Linked DNA regions of Homo sapiens: regions 1, 2 and 4 are each linked to region 3. The links are contacts of gene promoters, found by promoter capture Hi-C in blood cells and fetal thymus (Javierre and others, 2016). All regions are on one chromosome and are shown on one strand. Each heading gives the region's core, a stretch centred on a gene start or on the middle of the fragment in contact. The rest is flanking DNA. Distances are from core to core; before and after follow the strand shown.

The links. Contacts are between HindIII fragments. The CHiCAGO score rates a contact against its expected background, and 5 or more counts as called.
Region 1: a contact is called between the fragment with the promoter of ANGPTL6 here and the fragment with the promoter of CDC37 in region 3, in 12 of 17 cell types (total CD8 T cells, neutrophils, non-activated CD4 T cells and 9 more). The highest score is 8.7, in total CD8 T cells.
Region 2: a contact is called between a fragment that was not itself captured here and the fragment with the promoter of CDC37 in region 3, in 11 of 17 cell types (activated CD4 T cells, total CD8 T cells, M1 macrophages and 8 more). The highest score is 8.1, in activated CD4 T cells.
Region 4: the fragment with the promoter of SHFL here is called in contact with the fragment with the promoter of CDC37 in region 3 in 11 of 17 cell types (total CD8 T cells, neutrophils, erythroblasts and 8 more); the score reaches 9.0 in total CD8 T cells.

What each region holds. Positions count from the first base shown.
Region 1 is chr19:10,099,770-10,104,319 of GRCh38, forward strand. It overlaps ANGPTL6 (angiopoietin like 6), which reads right to left and starts at 2,909. Exons shown (of 6, transcript NM_031917.3): 1 at 2,799-2,909. RefSeq lists enhancers at 2,919-2,968, 3,039-3,088. The HindIII fragment of the contact is 11,381 bases long and covers 1-4,550 here.
Region 2 is chr19:10,665,050-10,669,945 of GRCh38, forward strand. The region is part of intron 1 of ILF3 (interleukin enhancer binding factor 3); the gene reads left to right. Among named protein-coding and RNA genes, the nearest start is that of ILF3, 13 kb to the left of the region's middle. The HindIII fragment of the contact is 1,761 bases long and covers 1,308-3,068 here.
Region 3 is chr19:10,400,742-10,405,443 of GRCh38, forward strand. CDC37 (cell division cycle 37, HSP90 cochaperone) reads right to left here and starts at 2,801. Exons shown (of 8, transcript NM_007065.4): 1 at 2,637-2,801. The coding sequence starts at 2,738. MIR1181 (microRNA 1181) reads right to left here and starts at 2,797; the gene lies at 2,717-2,797. RefSeq lists silencers at 2,517-2,576, 4,287-4,336 and an enhancer at 2,977-3,326. The HindIII fragment of the contact is 3,760 bases long and covers 554-4,313 here.
Region 4 is chr19:10,084,687-10,089,480 of GRCh38, forward strand. SHFL (shiftless antiviral inhibitor of ribosomal frameshifting) reads left to right here and starts at 1,631. Exons shown (of 8, transcript NM_018381.4): 1 at 1,631-1,762; 2 at 2,243-2,366; 3 at 2,565-2,614. The coding sequence starts at 1,742. RefSeq lists silencers at 1,330-1,549, 1,620-1,899. The HindIII fragment of the contact is 8,670 bases long and covers 1-4,794 here.

The sequences.
Region 1 (4,550 bases), core at 1,659-4,158, 300 kb before region 3:
TGAACAGCAGATTTAGGGTTGTACCTCCATATACAAGCTCTCTCTCTCTCTGTCTCTCCCTCTCTCTCTCTCTCTTTCTCTCTTTCTCTCTCTCTCTCTCTCTCTCTCCCCCACGCCCTCTTTTTTTTTTTTTTAGACGGAGTCTCGCTCTGCAATCTCAGCTCACTGCAACCTCCACCTCCCGGGTTCAAGTGATTCTTGTGCCTCAGCCTCCCAAGAAGCTGGGATTACAGGCATGCGCCACCACACCCAGCTAATTTTTGTATTTTTAGTAGAGACAGGGTGCCTGATCAACAGGTGAAATCCCGTCTCTACTAAAAGTACAAAAAATTAGCTGGGCGTGGTGGCGCATGCCTGTAATCCCAGCTACTCGGGAGGCTGAGGCAGAAGAACGGCTTGAACCTGGCAGAGGTTGCAGTGAGCTGAGACCGCACCACTGCCTTCTAGCCTAGGCAACCTGGGTGAGACTCCATCTCAAAAAAAAAGAAAAAAAAGAGAGAGTCGTGCTCTGTTGCCCAGGCTGGAGTGCAGTGGAGCAATCATAGCTCACTGTAGCCTCCAATTCCTGCACACAAGTGGTCCTCCTGCCTCAGCCTCCTGAGTGGTTGGAACTACAGGTGCGCACCACCATGCCCAGCTACTTTTTTGTAGGGAGGGGGTCTCACTGTGTTGCCCAGGCTAGTCTCAAACTCCCAGGCTCAAGTGATCCTCCCACCTTGGACTCCCAAAGTGCTGAAATTACAGATGTGAGCAACCACACTGGCCCTAAACCTATGCTTCCTGATGCCTGCACAAGCACATATCCCGAGGGTCTCCATCTCACACACACATTGCCTCATTCATGCATTCAACCACAGACACCTTGAGTGCCTATTGTGTGCCAGGGATGCTGTTTTAGGCAATGAGGACACAGCCTTAACCCAAACAGACAAAATTCCTGCCCTTGCAGAGCTGACATTCAAGTTGGGAGAACAGAGAAATAAGTCAAACAGCCGCTAGGTAGGTCAGAGGGTAATCGTGCTTAGGAGAAAAATGGAACAGGCAAGGGGGTGACAGTCCCGGAGGTGGGGGACATTTAATAGAGGAGTCAGGACTGGGTGTGCTGACTCACGCCTGTAATCCCAGCACTTTGGGAGGCCGAGGTGCCTGTAATCCCAGCACTTTGGGAGGCCGAGGTGCCTGTAATCCCAGCACTTTGGGAGGCTGAGGTGGGAGGATCACTTGAGGCCAGGAGTTTGAGACCAGCTTGGCTAACGTGGCGAAACCCTGTCTCTACTGAAAATACAAAAATTAGCCAGGCGTAGTGGCACGCGCCTGTAGTCTCAGCTACTCAGGAGGCTGAGACACAAGAATCACTTGAACCCGGAAGGCAGAGGTTGCAGTGAGCCATGATTGCACCACTGCACTCCAGCCTGGGCAATAGAGCGAGACTCTGTCTCAAAAAAAAATAAAATAGAGGAGTCAGGAAAGGCCTCACAGAAGAAGTGACACTTGACTGGAACAGTGCCTCATGCCTGTAATTTCAGCACTTTGGGAGGCCAAGGCAGGAGGATTGCTTGAGCCTAGGAGTTTGAGACCAGCCTGGCCAATATGGTGAAAGTCCATTTCTACTAAATATAAAAATAAAAATAAAATAAAGAATAAGGGACACTTTCACAAAGACCTGATGGAAGAGAGAGAAGAGGAAGAGCATTCCAGGCAGAGAGAACAGCAGGTGCAAAGGCCCGGAGATTGCACCCAAGAAATGGCAGAAAGGGGCCAGGCACGGTGGCTCACGCCTGTAATCCCAGCACTTTGGGAGGCCGAGGCGGGAGGATCACCTGAGGTCGAGAGTTCAAGACCAGCCTGGCCAACATGGTGAAACCCCGTCTCTACTAAAAATACAAAAATTAGCTGGGCATGGTAATGCATGCCTGTAATCCCAGCTACTACTCAGGAGGCTGAGGTGGGAGAGTCACTTGAACTCAGGAGGCCGATGTTGCAGTGAGCAGAGATTGCGCCATTGCACTCCAACCTGGGCGACAGAGCAAGGCTCAAAAAAAAAAAAAAAAAAAAGGCCAGGTGCGGTGGCTCACGCCTGTAATCCCAGCACTTGGGAGGCCAAGGCAGGTGGATCACGGGGTCAGGAGATCGAGACCATCCTGGCTAACACAGTGAAATTCCGTCTCTACTAAAAATACAAAAAAAAAAAAAAAAATTAGCCGGGCATGGTGGCGAGCGCCTGTAGCCCCAGCCACTCCAGAGACTGAGGCAGGAGAATGGCGTGAACCCGGAAGGCGGAGCTTGCAGTGAGCTGAGATCGCGCCACTGCACTCCAGCCTGGGTGACAGAGCGAGACTCTGTCTCAAAAAAAAAAAAAAAAAAAAAAAGAAATGGCAGAAATGTCTATGAGGCCGGAAGAGAGAAGGGGGAAGCAGGAGGAGGTAAGAAGTGTCAGGGCAAAGTGTGAAGGGTCCTGTGGGCCCGGAGGAGGACTTGGGTTTTACTCTGAGTCAGGCAGGAGCCATGGAGGGTTCTGGGCTGGAGATGGCCACATTTACTTCTGGACTCAGACACCAAGCAGGGGCTCACAAGGATCCGGGGGTAGGGTCCTCTCTTTGTCCCCGATCACTGACATGCCCCACCCCCCACAACAGAGATTGAGCAACCCCCCAGAACTGGGACGTGTGTATAACACCCGCTGCCTTTTACACTCTCAGCCTGGGGTGGCGGGGTGGCCTGGGGGCCCCCAAGCCAAGCTGTGGTCGGAGTTTCCCCACAGTGAGAATCAACCTCCACCTACCTTCCCACCCTCTCACCTCTGATGCCCAAGACCCTGAATCCAGCGAAGCTCACAGAACACACAAGAAGTCCAAGGAAGAGCCGAGGGTCCAGTGGGGCCTCTGAGCTAGAGACGGGGAGAGGGCAGTGGGACAGAAGGAGAGAGGAGGCTTGGTAACCACTCCCCAGCCCCCAGAGCCTGGGAGTGGAGCTGGGATGCTGGGCCCAGGAGCCCAAACTATAAATATTTAGCATTTCCCGAATGAGAAATGAGACAGAATTGCCAGACCCCCCTGCCCAGGCCACCAGAGCCTGATAACACAGGTCAGTGTCCTGGACATCCCTCCCTTTCCCCCACACCCTCCACTGCAGAGCCCAGAGCGTGGGAGGCTGCAGGCCCTGGGGCAGCCAGGCGTGATCCCAGCCCCAGACACGCACACACCACACATAGAAAGAGGAACATCACTGGGGACTTACCGTGTGTAGGGCTTGGCTCTAAACTCTCCACACCTTTTACGTATTTGATCCTTACAACCTGAGCTGGATTCTGTATGTACCCTCATTTTACAGCAGGGAAAACTGAGGCTCAGAGAGGGTAAGCAACTTGCCTGCGGTCACACAGCCAAAAAGAGACCAGGATGGGAGCCAGCCAAGGTAGCTTGACTCAGAAACTCACACATGTACACCACAGCTGTCACACACATATGGGCACATAACAGAGTGGACACAAACACACACACACACATTTGCACGCACGCACACATTAACACCCAGCGAAAGTCTGGGTGCAGTGGCTCATGCCTGAAAGCCAGCACTTTGGGAGGCCGGGGCAGGTGGATTACCTGAGGTCAGGAGTTCGAAACCATCCTTGCCAACATGCTAAAACCCCGTCTCTACTAACAATACAAAAATTAGCTGGGCATGGTGGCATGCGCCAGTAATCCCAGCTACGCGGGAGGCTGAGGCAGGAGAATTGCTTGAAGCCAGGAGGTGGAGGTTGCAGTAAGCCGAGATCGAGCAACCGCATGCACTCCAGCCTGGGCGACAAGACTGAAATTCCATCTCAAAAATAAATAAATAAATAAATAAATAAATAATAAATAAATAATAATAAAGTGAGGAATTAATTAATTAAAATAAAAAATAAATATAAAAGACACAGCTGTAAATTTTTAAATTGTGATAGAAACAATATATTCTTAAAGTGAAAACCCTACCTCAGTTACATGTGATTTATGTTTTTTGGATTAATCTGGATTTTATAATTAGAAATAAAAATGTAAGGCTGGGCGCGGTGGCTCACGCCTGTAATCCCAGCACTTTGGGAGGCCAAGGTGGGCAGATCACGAGGTCAGCAATTCGAGACCAGCCTGGCCAAGATGGTGAAACCCCGTCTCTACTAAAAATACAAAAATTTGCCGGGTGTGGTGGCCCATGCCTGTAATCCCAGCTACTCAGGAGGCTGAGGCAGGAGAATCGCTTGAACCCGGGGGGCGGAGGTTGCAGTGAGCCACTGCACTCCAGCCTGGGCGACAGAGTAAGACTCTGTCTCAAAAAAAAAAAAAAAAAAAAGAAAAGAAATAAAAATGTAAGATTTTGAGTCCACATAATTATTTGTTGAAAATAATACAAGTCAGTATAATAGAGAAGCATTCATATATTCAACACTGTGAGACAAAACACCAGAGACCTTGGATTTGATAATTGATCTGATATCCTGGACAGTATTCATATGTACAGTGATAGCTATCTTTCTTTGGTGTTTTTTTTGTTTTGTTTGTGTGTGTGGT
Region 2 (4,896 bases), core at 938-3,437, 260 kb after region 3:
ATTTTGAGACAGAGTCTTGCTCTGTCGCCCAGGCTGGAGTGCAATGGCGCGATCTCAGCTCACTGCAGCCTCAGCCTCCCTGGTTCCAACGATTCTTCTGCCTTAGCCTCCTGGGTAGCTGGGATTACAGGTGCACTCCACTACGCCCAGCTAATTTTTGTATTTTTAGTAGAGACAGGGTTTCACCATGTTGGTCAGGCTGGTCTCGAACTCCTGACCTCAGGTGATCCACCCACCTTTGGCCTCCCAAAGTGTTGGTATTACAGGTGTGAGCCACTGCGCCTGGCCACTTTATTTTGATGATGCATTTCAAACTAAGTAGCAGGAAGTTGCAAGTCTTCCCTCTACATATTATTAACTAGAATTTAATATTTATTTACAGTTCTTTTTTGGGGTGGCGGGGGTCAGGGTCTCACACACTTTTTTTGCCCAGGCTGGAGTGCAGTAGCACAGTCTTGGCTTACTGCAGCCTCCATCTCCTGGGCTCAAGTGATCCTCCTCCCTCAGCCTCCTGAGTAGCTGAAATTAACGGCAGGTGCCACCATACCTGGCTAATTTTTTTTTTCTTTTTTTTTAAGAAGGAGTTTCGCTCTTGTTGCCCAGGCTGGAGTGCAATGGTGTGATCTCGGCTCACTGCAACCTCCGCCTCCTGGGTTCAAGCGATTCTCCTGCCTCAGCCTCCCGAGTAGCTGGGACTACAGGCACGTGCCACCAATGCCCAGCTAATTTTGTATTTTTAATAGAGACGGGGTTTTGCCGTGTTGGTTAGGCTGGTCTCAAACTCCCGACCTCAGGTGATCCACCTGCCTCAGCCTCCCAAAGTGCTGGGATTCCAGGCATGAGCCACCGCGCCCTGCCTACCTGGCTAATTTAAAAAAAAATTTTTTTGGAGACCAGGTCTGATTATGTTGCCCAAGTTGGCCTCGAACTACTGTGCTCAAGTGCCTTGGCCTCCCAAAGTGCTGTGATAACAGGCGTGAGCCACTGCTCCTGCCTCACTTTATTTTTATGATGCATTTCCAACTAAATAACAGAAAGTTCTAATCTTCCCTCTACATACTAACAAGAATTTAGTATTTATTTGCAGCTAGGTTTTTATTTTTTTCTTTAAAAATTTTTTTTGTAGATTCACTCAGGCTGGTCTTGAACTCCTGACAAGTGCTGCTCCCAACGTGGTGAGCCACCATGCCCAGCCTCTTTTTTCTTTTTAAATAATGCACAGATCTTTAGTATACCAGTCAGTGAATTCTGGCCACTGCATATACCCAACTCTTGTCAGGAGGGAGAATGTAACCTTCATCTCAGAAAGCTTGGGAGGGCCCCTTCCCATGTGATCCCTACCACCGTTCCCCAGAGGCTGTCCCATCACTGATTAGTTTCGCTTATTCTAGAACTTTATGTAGGTGGAAGCATGATTCTTTTTGAATTTGTTCCAAATGTAGCCAGTGGGACACCTCACAAGTCAGCTCCGATGTCCTCAGGACAAGACTGCTATAGTCACCAGTGCTTTGTTGCTTTCTGGCGCTCCGGTAGGATCCAGGCTCACTTGGTATATCCCCTGCTGCAGATTACGGTCCACTTCTCCCGGGAGCTGCTTTCAGTAGGTTTTTGTTGTTGTTATATTTTTGTTTATTTATTTATTTCGAGACATTCTCTTGCTGTGTCAGGTAGGCTGGAGTTCAGTGGTGCAATCTCGGCTCATGGCAGTCTCCTCCCCAGTTCAAGGAGGTCAAGGAGTTCAAGACCAGCCTGGTGAACATAGTGAAACCCTGTCCCTACTAAAAATACAAAAATTCGCCGGGTGTGGCGACACACACCTGTAGTCCCAGCTACTAGGGAGGCTGAGACAGGAGAATTGCCTGAAACTGGCAGGCAGAGATTACAGTGAGCCGAGATCACACCACTGCATTCCAGCCTGGGCGACAGAGCAAGACTCTCTCAAAAAAACAAAAAGTGTTGGCTTTGCATCGTGGCTCACACCTGTAATCCCAGCACTTTGGGAGACTGAACTGGGAGGATCACTTGAGCCCAGGAGTTTGAGACCAGCCCACGCAACATGGCAGCAACCCATCTCTACAAATAATTAAGAACAAAAAATCTATTATGGAATTTTTAAAACATGCACAAAAGAATTACAGTATCCATCACCCAGCTTCAACAGCTGTCAGTGTTCTACAGTCTTGTTTCATCCTTCTCTACTTTCCTTTTTTTTTTTTTTTGGAGACGGAGTCTTGCTCTGTCGCCCAGGCTGGAGTGCAGTGGCACGATCTCGGCTCACTCACTGCAAGCTCTGCCTCCCGGGATCATGCCATTCTCCTGCCTCAGCCTCCCTATAGCTGGGACTACAGGCACCCACCACCATGCCTGGCTAATTTTTTGTATTTTTAGTAGAGACGAGGTTTCACCGTGTTAGCCAGGATGGTCTCGATCTCCTGACTTCGTGATCCGCCCGCCTTGGCCTCCCAAAGTGCTGGGATTACAGGCGTGAGCCACCACGCCCGGCCTCATCCTTCTCTACTTTCTGCTCCCTGGTATATTTCAGAGCAAATACCAGGTATATAATTTTAGCCATAAATTTGTCTTAAATATGTGTGGAACAGTTAAAGTTGGTTCTTTCCAGCACAACCACAGTATTATTCCCCTAACTGAAGTAACTATAATTCCTTCATAAGGATTCACTTCATGAACAAGATTCCCAGTGTCGTTGCGACTATCCAGGGAAACCATAGCCAAGGGAACAGGCTTGGCAGAATCAGTGGCGAAAGAAGGCCCTGTGGAGCTTGACTCTGGCTCGGTGAAGAGACATGGGTGATGGAGGAGAGGATGCCCTTTGCACACACATCACTCACGCCTGGCCCTCATTGCAGCCTGGGAAGGCAGATTTTTTTCAACAGTAGGATCTAGTACCAATTGTTAGGTCTATGGGATATGTGCTGCATGCTTCAAGTAGGTTGACTTGTTTCATTTTCCTAGTCCTGCCGAGAGTAGAGGGGCCTCTTCCGTGTTGCTAATGCAAGAAGGAAGCTAGTGGCTGGGCAAGTGGGGTTTCAGGTCCAAGTCTGTGCAGAAGCTTTCCTTGGGCGATCGATCGAGTGGCTTGCCCCATGGTGTGAGTCTCAGGCATGTTGAGCCACTGAGCCCAGGGACTGGCTTTCTGCCCTTTTCATCCCATGCCCCCTCACACTCCTTCCCTCCTGCATCCCTACCCTGACATGAAGCCTTTGACCTCACCATGTCCTGTTGCTGGGCTTTGCAGGGGCATCATTTGACTCCTAGGGGTTTTTTGTTTTGTTTTGTTTTAAATGAGACAGAGTTTTGCTCTTGTCACCCAGGCTGGAGTGCAATGGTGTGATCTCGACTCACCGTAACCTCCGCCTCCCAGGTTCAAGCAATTCTCAGGCCTCAGCCTCCTGAATAGCTAGGATTACAAGCATGTGCTACCACACCCGACTCATTTTTTGTATATTTAATAGAGACAGGGTTTCACCATGTTGGCCAGGCTGATCTTGAACTCGCGACCTCAGGTGATGCCTCTGCCTCGGCCTCCCTAAAGTGTTGGGATTACAGGCGTGAGCCACCGCGCCTGGTGACCCCTAGGTTTTATTTATTTATTTATTGAGACGGAGTCTCGCTCTGTCACCCAGGGTGGAGTGCAGTGGCGCGATCTCAGCTCACTGCAACCTCTGCCTCCCGGGTTCAAGTGATTCTTCTGCCTCAGCCTCCTGAGTAGCTGAGACAACAGGCATGTGCCACCACACCCGGCTAATTTTTTGTATTTTTAGTAAAGATGGGGTTTCACAGTGTTAGCCAGGATGGTCTCGATTTCTTGACCTCGTGATCTGCCTGCCTTGGCCTCCCAAAGTGCTGGGATTACAGGCATGAGCCACCGCACCTGGCCGGTTTTATTTATTTATTCATTTATTTTTTTTGAGGTGGAGACTCTATTTGCCACGCAGGAGTGCAGTGGCGCAATCTCAGCTCACTGCAACCTCTGCCTCCCGGTTTCACGCTGTTCTGCCTCAGCCTCCCTAGTAGCTGGGATGACAGGTGCACGCCACCACATCTGTCTAATTTTTGTATTTTTAGGAGAGATGTGGTTTCTCCATGTTAGCCCAGCTAGTCTCTAACTCCTGACCTCAAGTGATCCACCCACCTTGGCCTCCCAAAGTGCTGGGATTACAGGCGTGAGCCACCTCGCTCAAGCACCCTTAGGTTTTAAAGTTTAACCTTGGGGTGTTTAAATTTTGCAGTTAGATTTGCTAGGTAGTCCTGGGTATTTTGGGAAGTTCTTGTTTTGGCAGCATGTCAGACTTTATCCTTGATGCTTGGGCCTTTCAGGTTTGAGCCTGCTCTGCTGGCTCGGAACTAGTTTAGTCGGAAGGGGCTGGCAGTTGCCTGTAGGGGGTAGATTCATCTGGTGTGTATTATGCTGATGGGGTTTTTTGGTTGTTTACTCATTTGGAAGATTTCAGTATGGACCAGACTGTTTGTGTAGAGTGGGAATTGAGTAGGTTGGAGTCGGCATGATTCTGAGACCGAAATAGTAATTATGGCTTCGTTTGTCCTGAAGGATTCTGTCGTGCACTTCAGTTGTCTCAGCCTCTTCAGAGTTGAACGTGATGTGGTTGTCATCGTCCACCTGATATTTCAAATGTTCACTTTTCGGGAGGTTCTTTCTTTTTCATTTTACAGAAGCCTTTTGGGACCCTTTGTCATATGTCTTTCTTCCTTCCACCTCTTCATTACCATCAGAGGTCAGAGCTCCTTCCCTCTCTTTTCCTTCCCCAAGCACCAAGATTTTGATGTGAACATCTTTTTTTTTTTGTTTTTTTTTTTTGAGATGAAGTCTTGCTCTGTCACCCATGCTGGAGTGCAGTGGTGTGATCTCTGCTCACT
Region 3 (4,702 bases), core at 1,551-4,050:
GGACTTGAACTTCTGGGCTCAAATGATCCTTCTGCCTCAGTCTCCTGAGTAGCTAGGACTATAGGCATGTGCCACCACATGTGGCTACAGATTTTTTTTTTTTTAACCATGAACAGAAATTATTTAAATGATGATGATGATAATAGCCACTGCCCCAAAAGGATTACAAATATTAAATGAATAAGGTAAGCCTTACAACAACCTTATGGGGTGGACATCATTCAGATTCTCAGGTAGGGAAACTGAGGCACAGAGCGATCAAACAGCTCCCTGGCAGTCACGCAGCACGTGAGTGATACAGACAGAGCTGAGATTTGAACCTAGTCAGGCCTGTGCTCTGAACGACAGCAATCTCTCCTTCCCCTCCACAATGCTTCCTTCCAAACCTGCCCCAAGTTTTCCTGACCCAGTCTTAATTCATTCTTACAAAGGTCTCAGGGAGGTGGGGCCATATTATCCCAGGTTTCACATGGGCTCAGGGAGGCTTCTTGTGAGTCTTGCCACATCAAAGAAAGAAAGAAGCAGCAAGAGGTGGGGCTAGGATTGGAACCCAAGCTTGCCTGTCCTTGAACCTGTGCTGGAGACGCTGAAGCCCCCTGCCTCCCTTACATGCCACTACAACCACCGGGGTTCTCAGCGGCAGGACAGGAAAAGCTCTGTGCCAGAGGGAGGAGGGTGTGGCAGGTACACTACGCTGCAGGAGGGGGGCCCTCCCACCCGGCAGGACCAAACCATTCTCCACAGTAGTAAAGATTAACCTCTTTATGTGACAGAAATAGGTCTTCCCAAGAATAGTCTTTGGAGCTTTGAGGAAGTCTTAAATATTTCATAATAAAATGTTACACACGGCAAGAAATAGAAGCGCTAGAACTTTCTTCCCACACTCCAGTGGCTTGCTTGGCAGGTACACTACCCAGGAGACTCAGGATTTAAGGAATAGGTCTGGAAGTGGGACTGGGAGCTAGATGAAGAGACTAATGCCGTATTCCAGAGTATTCTGGAAGGATGGGAAAGGGACCTTCTAGTTGTTTCTGGATAAATGATGGGGAATTGCCCTATGGGAGGGTGGGGTAAGAGATCCTCACTAGAAGGTTCTGAGAGGTATATGCCCTTCGTTTAAGAGCACAACATGGCTGGGTGCGGTGGCTCACGCCTGTAATCCCAGCACTTTGGGAGGCCGAGGTGGGTGGATCAACTGAGGTCGGAAGTTCAAGACCAGCCTGACCAACATGGAGAAACCCTGTCTCTACCAAAAATACAAAATTAGCCAGGCATGGTGGTGCATCATGCCTGTAATCCCAGCTACTCAGGAGGCTGAGGCAGGAGAATCACTTGAACCCGGGAGGCAGAGGTTGCAGTGAGCCAAGATTGTGCCACTGCACTCCAGCCTGGGCGACAAGAAGGAAACTTCGTCTCAAAAAAAAAAAAAAAAAAAAAAAAAGGAATACAACAGACACTGGTATGTAATGCAGGCACACTCATTTGGGGTAGCAGGAGGTTAAACCTTTAAGTCTTAGTCATCCCATTGGCTCGTGAGCACTGAGAGGGTGGTGGGACATGGATCACCCAGGCTTGGGATTCTGGGGTCTGGATTCGGGACCTCTGTTGTGGTCAGATAGAAGAAGGGGTGGTGAATTTAGAATCAGACCAGGAGAGTCCCTGGATAAGAGCAGGGACAATTTGGGTCACAGAGTAGCTAACAGGCTGGGGACAAAAGGTGGGGTGGGTTTGGGGTTCTGGGCTTGAGTTAGGGGAGAGTTTCCAATGCTGGCTGAGGCTCATACAGGAAGCCAGTCTGGGAAGTGGGTGGTGACAGGGTCTGCAATACCAAGTAGGAGCAGGGGCTCTGGCTAGGCCGGAAGCCACGTGGGCAGGATTTCCTGGTATAATGGGAAATGGGTCTACCGGAGGCCAAAGGAGAGGCTGGAATGTGAGGCTCTATCGGGTTGGAGCTGGTAGTTAGATCCAGAGGGGAACCAGATTCCAAAACCCAAGTACTCGGTGAGACTAAGGATCCTGAAGGGGGACGGTTCTACACTCTAGGAAGGGGGTCCTGGGTGTGGGCAGGGACAGGAATATCAGAGTAGCACAGAGTTCCTTGTTCCGTTTAGAAAAGGAGTGGCGACTCCGGATCTGAATGGGAACCCCGGATCAAGATCCCGGAAAGTAGATCCCGGGACAGACCAAAGTATTGGGGGTCCAGACTACGGAGGTGGGGGGGCGATGGGAGATCCCAGATAGGAAGTGAATACCCGAATAGGATGAGGGATCATCTAGAAGAATTTGGGGTCCAAACTTTGAGGCAGAGTTCTGGGTATAAATGTTAACTGCCGAACAGAATTAGGGAGAACCCCCAAGACTCGTCTAGGGGACTCCAGACTATGAAGAAGTTCTAGGGGGTGAATAGGGAATCCCACGCAAAAATCGGAGCAGGGAGTGGGGGAGCGGAGATCCAGGGCAGGGACTCAGGGTCCCAATGGTACTGGGGTCCCGGAGTTGAATCGAAGCTCCTGAAAATCCAGACTGGGGGGGTGAGAATCCTAGGTGTGAACAGCGGGGTCCCTGGGCAGTATCGGGGATCACAACTCCGAAGCGGGGTCCGGGAGTGGGGAAAGGGATGGGCGCGCGCGCCTTACCTGATGCCGCCAGCGGAAGAGACTGGCCGTGTCGATGTTGGGGTGCGTCTCGTCTTCATCATCAGACACCTCAATGTGGTCCCACACGCTGTAGTCCACCATCTTGCCTTGGCGGCCCAGCCCGCTCCGGCTCGGGTGGCGGCGACGGCGGCAGCAGTGGAGACTAGGAGCGCGGAGCCCCGCCCCTTCCGCTTCCGCCGAGCGCGGGAAACCCCGCCCTGTGTGACGTCACATCCCTAGTAACCGCGGCAGCGGCACTAGCTACCCAGCCAGCCTTAAAGGGCCCTGCGTAAGTGTTCCGGCCCCCTGGAGTTCCCGCAGAGACTCCGCGTCATCGGGCGCTGGGGCTCCGCTAGGTCTCCTGGGGGCATATGAGTGCGCGCTTCAACTCCGAGCCCCCCTCATCTCCCGCCGCTCCACGGTGGGCGTTTGGGGTGGCAGGGAGGGGACGGTTGATGAGACTGAGAGGACTGTCCCCTCAGCCACGCCGCAGTGACGTCTGCAAGGGGTAGGGACACGGCGGGAAGGCCCTCCCCCTGCCCTTCGTAAACGGGGACCTAAGCCTGCGCTGGAGAGGGGCGCCTGATGACTCCTCGGACTTTCTCAGCCCGAGGAGGACTGGACCTGCCCTGGGGGTGTCTAAATCGGGGGTGGTATGGCCCTCCCCTTGCAGGGTTAAACGTGGAGGGGAGACTGTGGCCCTGCCTTGGGAGCTGGGGTTTCCCCGCCTCGGCAACAGCCTTCTCCTTGTCTTCCACCTCCTGCCATTCGCAGCGAGGACTCGCGCGAGCGCGCGCGCGCACACACACACACACACACACACACACGCACACACACACACACACACACTTTGGAATCACCCGGACCCCCTCAAAACGGGTCTCGGCTCCCCACCCCGCTGGCCGCTGGGTGTCGCTAGAGTCTAGCCCACGGCGCGTATTCCTGGCCCCGCGCTTGGTGGGGGGAATCGTGGAGGGGTGGAAGGGGGCTTTCCTTGTCGTCACAGTCTGGGGCCACGCATAGCCCCTCCCCGTTCGTCTTGGGGTACGCTTCCTCCGCCGGGGCTCTAAGGACTCCATTACTCTAAGCATGCAGGGCCTCGACCACCTCACACTTCCATGCATCCCAATCCACGCTTTGATACCAGGATAATAGGCCGTGTTGCAGCCTTGGGCCAGGATTATCTCAGATTAAAGGGTGCTCCCTCGGGGGTCAGGCTGGATAGGAGGAGCTCCAGCCACTCCGGTGAGGGGCGCCTCTTCCTAGTCTCCCCTGGAGCCGACGTTGGAGGCAGTGCCTGGAGAGAGCGAGCGAAGTTCTCCAGAAGGGGGAGGATTCCCCGGTGCATGGAGCGGGAAGGGCCATCGGACAAAAACGTCCTCCCGCTGCCGCCCTTCCCCCTCGCGCTTCATTCAAACCCGCGAGTGGGCGGGCAGGGGCGGGGGAGTCCCCATCTCCTACCCCTCCCTCTTCCCCTCCACCCTGGCAGTCCAGCACATCAGTGGCCGTCACGGCCCGGGCACGCGCGCGCACGGACCCACACCCCGGCGGCTCTCACAATCGCACACACACATACACACACACACCAGCAAACAAAGGGTCTGGACACCCCCGTCCCCTCCCGCCCCCCAGGCCAGGGAGGGCGGGGCATCCCCTCCCCAGGCCCCCCGCAAGGTAAGCTTGGGGCTGCGAGCTGCGGTGGGGAGGGGGACACGGTGCCACAGTGGGAGGGGGCCAGGAAGGTAGGGGGTTCCCCGGCTCCCCAGGAAAGTCGTACCCCCACCCCCACCGTATGCCCTTTAGGGATTCGGCCCCGTCATCAGCCTGGGGGTGTTTGGAGAGAATCCCAGATGTCGGGGATTCCCGGATAGGCGCGGGGGTCTCTTCCTGGCTCTGGAGACTGGAGCTGCCCAGCTTCAGCAAAACAGGGTTCCCGGAGCCTCAGCTTCCAGAACTGGGGATAGAGCGCCGGAAGCTTCCCCATCAACCCCAAGCATTTCCTAATCTGCCAGCACAGCACCTCCAGCCCTGGGGACTGAGGAGAGAGACCCCTAAGTTGCTTTGCA
Region 4 (4,794 bases), core at 381-2,880, 320 kb before region 3:
GTTGCCCAGGCTGGTTTTGAACTCCTGACCTCCAGTGATTCTCCCACCTTGACCTCCCAAAGTGCTAGCATTACAGGTGTGAACCATCATGCCCAGCTCCATTTATCTATCAATATTTTATATAACAGTTAACAGAATATATTGATATAATTGTATTTGTATATAATTTATAAATAATATCCATCTTTGAGGCCAGGAGTTTGAGACCAGCCTGGGCAACATAGTGAGACCCCGTCTCTACAAAAAAAATAGAAAATTAACCAGGCATAGTGGCATATGCCAGTAGTCCCAGCTACTTAGCAGGCTGAGGCAGGAGGATCGTTTGAGCCCAGGAGTTAGAGGCTGCAGTGAGCCACCATCAAACCACTGCACTCCAGCCTGGGCAACAGAGCAAGATCTTGTCTCAAAAAATAAATAAATGAATAAATATCCATCTGGGGGTGTAACTTTAACACTTTTACCTATAGGGGTGTGCAATGGAGAAAAAAATTTGGAGTCGTTGAACACAATGCTATTTTGCTCCTCAGAGAGTATCCGGCAGTCTCTGGAGACGTTTTTGGTAGTCACAACAGGGAGAGTAGGGAACCACTGGCATCTAGTGGGTGGAGGCCAGGGATGGTGTTAAATGTCCCCCAATACACAGGACAGTCCCCCACACAAAGAACTAGGCCGCCCAAAGTGTCAAGAGTGCTGGGCTTGAGAAGCCATTGCCCAAAAACCCCAGACTTAGTCTTGCTTTGGGGGCTCTGCACGGCTGCCTCATCTCCCCACTCTATTCCTCCCCTAGCTAAGACCTCCAATTTCAGTGACTCTACAAAGCATCCCCTCCTCCAATGAAGTTGCCATCTCTGTGTCCCCAGGCTGGGCCAGAGCCCCACCACCTAAGGGCTCCCTGATGTGCCCTGTACTGGGTTAGAATTGTCCGTCCCACGGGGTTCTTAACCATTGCAGATTCCCTGGATCCCTGAGACAGCCGGATTCTACCGGGCTACTAGAGACCAAGAATCTGTATTTTTCTCAAGCACCGCTCCCCCCAACCACACACACACTGCCTGCCCCTATCAAGGGCACACAGCAGGTGGCCCAGTGACTAGTTGAACGCCTACTGCAAGCCAGGCGCTATTACGCGATCCACTCGGGAATCTTGGCACATACTCCACTCCATGGTGTAGACACCAGGATTCTCCCCATTTCACAGAGGGGTAAACTGAGGTTGAGAGAGGTGACCGTAGCTAGGACAGAGACTCAGGGCAGGAAAAGGGCCCAGGTCCTCATGAGCGCCAGATTCCCGGGGAAGGAGGGAGAACAGAGAGGAGGGTGATGAACTGGGGGAGCGCGCGCTGGGTGGGGGGGCGCGGGGCCTCGCCGCGGCCTTCTGATGCGGCCCCGCCCCCACGAGGGACGTGAAGACGCGGACCCCGCGCAGCGTGGGGACATGTGACCGACTGCAGAGGCCGCGCCGCCTCCCCCGTCCGAGGTCTGCGCGCTCCGCCGCAGGGTGCAGACCCGGGGCGCCCGCCTGGGTTTGGGGCGCAAGAGCAGAGGCGGAGCCAGGGCGGAGCCAGCGCGCCGGGTCCCCCCTGAATCGAAAGCGAAACAGGGGCCGGGGAGGAAGGGCGGAGCCGGCCCCGAGGCACCGCCCCCTGCCCTGCGCGGCTGCTGGACCGACGGGCGCACCCAGGTAGGGGGGCGGCTGAGCCGCGCAGTGCGGACCCTCGCGGGGAACTGCGCCGCCGCCACCATGTCTCAGGAAGGTGTGGAGGTAAGCGATGGCTACGGCTGGGCCGGGGTCAGCCGCGACAGACCCCGAGGAGCGGCCGGGAGGCGCGGAGGGGGCTTCGCAGTTCCTGGGGACCCCCATCCTAGAACCCCAGATCCTTACCCCTGCCTGGCGCTCGCCCCCCTTGAAAAGGAAAGTGACTCCCACGTTTCCCCAGAGCGAAATGAGGCCTCCCCGAGGAAAAGCGGGGGCTGCAGGGTCAAAGGTCAGAGGCCAGAGATAACCTGGCCGCCCCCCCACACCTTAGGCTGGGACGCTCGCCCCAGTCCGCGCCTTCCCCCAACGCCCTGTGGGGACTTTGGCTTTTTCCAGGAAATGCCGTAAAGGGATGAAAGGCGGGGGGGGGGCGGCGGAGGCCAAAACCAAGGGTCAAGTTCGGGCCGGGAGAACGGTGCCTAGAGATGGGGGAGGGATGATCCCGTTTCCCCTTCCCCCACCGGAACCCCCCTGTCTCCATCCCAGCTGGAGAAGAGCGTCCGGCGCCTCCGGGAGAAGTTTCATGGGAAGGTATCCTCCAAGAAGGCGGGGGCTCTGATGAGGAAATTCGGCAGCGACCACACGGGAGTGGGGCGCTCCATCGTGTACGGTGAGGCTGCAGGGGTCCCGGGCCTGGTGCGGGGACCGCGCGTGGGAGCGCCGAGGGGGCGTGGTCTAGGGAGAGGCGTTGAGATCACCTCCCCCGGAGGTCCCAGCCTTGGGGAGGCTCTGCGTCGCGGCTCTGGGTGGCCTGGAACTCCCACAGACCCTTCAAGGGCCCTTCCCTTATATGCACTCTCCCCCGCAGGGGTAAAGCAAAAAGATGGCCAAGAACTAAGTAACGATCTGGATGCCCAGGTAACCTATCCCCTCCCCTCGCAAAGGACCGGGTCACGGGAGGGAGAGCAAGAGGGGGGACCCGACCCGTTCATGGTGACTGACCCCCCTCTGAAACAGGAGGGACCAGGCATTGTCGGTCCATAACTCATCACCCAATCTCACTTTTTCACCTCTCCATCATTTGTCCGGCCAGGGAGCCTGCAAACAGTAGGCGCTCATTATGTGCTGATTGTATTCAATGGGGGAGAGAGCCATGAAACTAAGCAATGAAAGGAGCCAGGATTATTGCCATCATAGCGGGGGCGCAGAGGTCAGAGAAGGCTTACTGGAGGAGGAGGTACCAAGTCTTAAAGGATGGGGAGGAGTGAGCCCTGGGAGGGGAAAGGGAAAGAAAGGCAGGGGTCTTGGGGTGGGGGAGGGAATGGCATAAGCAAAGGCTGGGAGGTGGGGAAGGGTTGTTAGTGGCAGTCTCTAGAAAGGCTAGGATGAGCAGAGGATTGGGGAGGAGAGAGAGGCAGGGGAATGGAACCCTTGTGTTGAATGAATGAATGAATGAATGAATGAATGAATGAATGAATGGCTTTGAAGCACAGGTGCATCATGGCTACTTTGCTTCTTTGACAGCTTTGGTGATGGGAACGCTGTGGATTTAGCCTGCCTGAAAGGCTTAGTGTAGGGCTGTTAAAGAGTATAATAGGCCAGGCGCGGTGGCTCACGCCTGCAATCCCAACATTTTGGGAGGCCGAGGCGGGCGGATCACCTGAGGTCGGGAGTTTGAGACCAGCCTGACCAACATGGAGAAACCCGTCTCTACTAAAAAATACAAAATTAGCTGGGCATGGTGGCGCATGCCTGTAATCCCAGCTACTCGGGAGGCTGAGGCAGGAGAATCACTTGAACCCAGGAGGCGGAGGTTGCAGTGAGCTGAGATCACACCATTGCACTCCAGCCTGGGCAACAAGAGCGAAACTCTGTCTCAAAAAAAAAAAAAAAAAAAAAATGCCGGGCGCGGTGGCTCACGCCTGTAATCCCAGCACTTTGGGAGGCCAAGGCGGGCGGATCATGAGGTCAGGAGATCGAGACCATCCTGGCTAACATGGTGAAACCCCATCTATACTAAAAATACGAAAAAAAAAATTAGCCAGTTGTGCTGGCAGGCCCCTGTAGTCCCAGCTACTCAGGAGGCTGAGGCAGGAGAATGGCGTGAACCCGGGAGGCGGAGCTTGCAGTGAGCCGAGATCGCACCACTGCACTCCAGCCTGGGCAACAGAGCGATTCTCCGTCTCAAACAAACAAAAACAAACAAAACCAGAGTATAACAAAACATGTATCATAGTCTACATTTATACATATAAAAGTATGATAAAAATGATAGCAGAGGGGCCAGGTGTGGTGGCTCACGCCTGTAATTCCAGCACTTTGGGAGGTTGAGGCGGGCAGATCACTTGAGGTCAGGAGTTCGAGATTAGCCTGGCCAACACGGTGAAACCCCTTCTCTATTAAAAATACAAAAAATTAGCTGGGCGTGGCAGTGCATGCTTGTAATCCCAGCTACTTGGCAGGCTAAGGCAGAAGAATCACTTGAACCTGGGAGGCAGAGGTTGCAGTCAGCCAAGATTGTGCCATTGCACTCTAGCCTGGGAGACAAGAGCGAAACTCCGTCTCAAAAATATAATAATAATAATAATAATAATAATAATAATAATAATATTAGCAGAGAGTAGCATTCATTGAGTACTTCCCACATGGCAAGATTCCAGGAATTTATTTATTTCATCACTGCAGTGACCCCAGGAGACAGGTCCTATTATTTATCCCCATTTCACAGACAAAGAAACTGAGGCCGAAGTCACTTGCCAGCAAGCAGGGGCAGCTGCGATTTGAACCCTGGCCACCTGGAGTCAGAGCCTGGGCTCTAACATGCCTGTCAGTGGGAACCCAGGGGGCAGGGAGTGGCTTGCCCAAGTCCCCACAGCTGGAAGTGATACAGCTGGGATTTGAACCCACATCTCTCTCCCACTTAGCCGAGCACAACGTGGCCTCAAAGGGGCGATATGTCACAACATCAACAAGCATGTGGCATTTGCAGGCAGGAAGTGAGTATGGGGGTCAGGCTAGCCTCACTCAGGCAAGCCCTCCCCTAAGCCTCAGTTTCCCCATCTGAGCAATAAGGTAACAGGTGTGCCCACCTCTCAGGG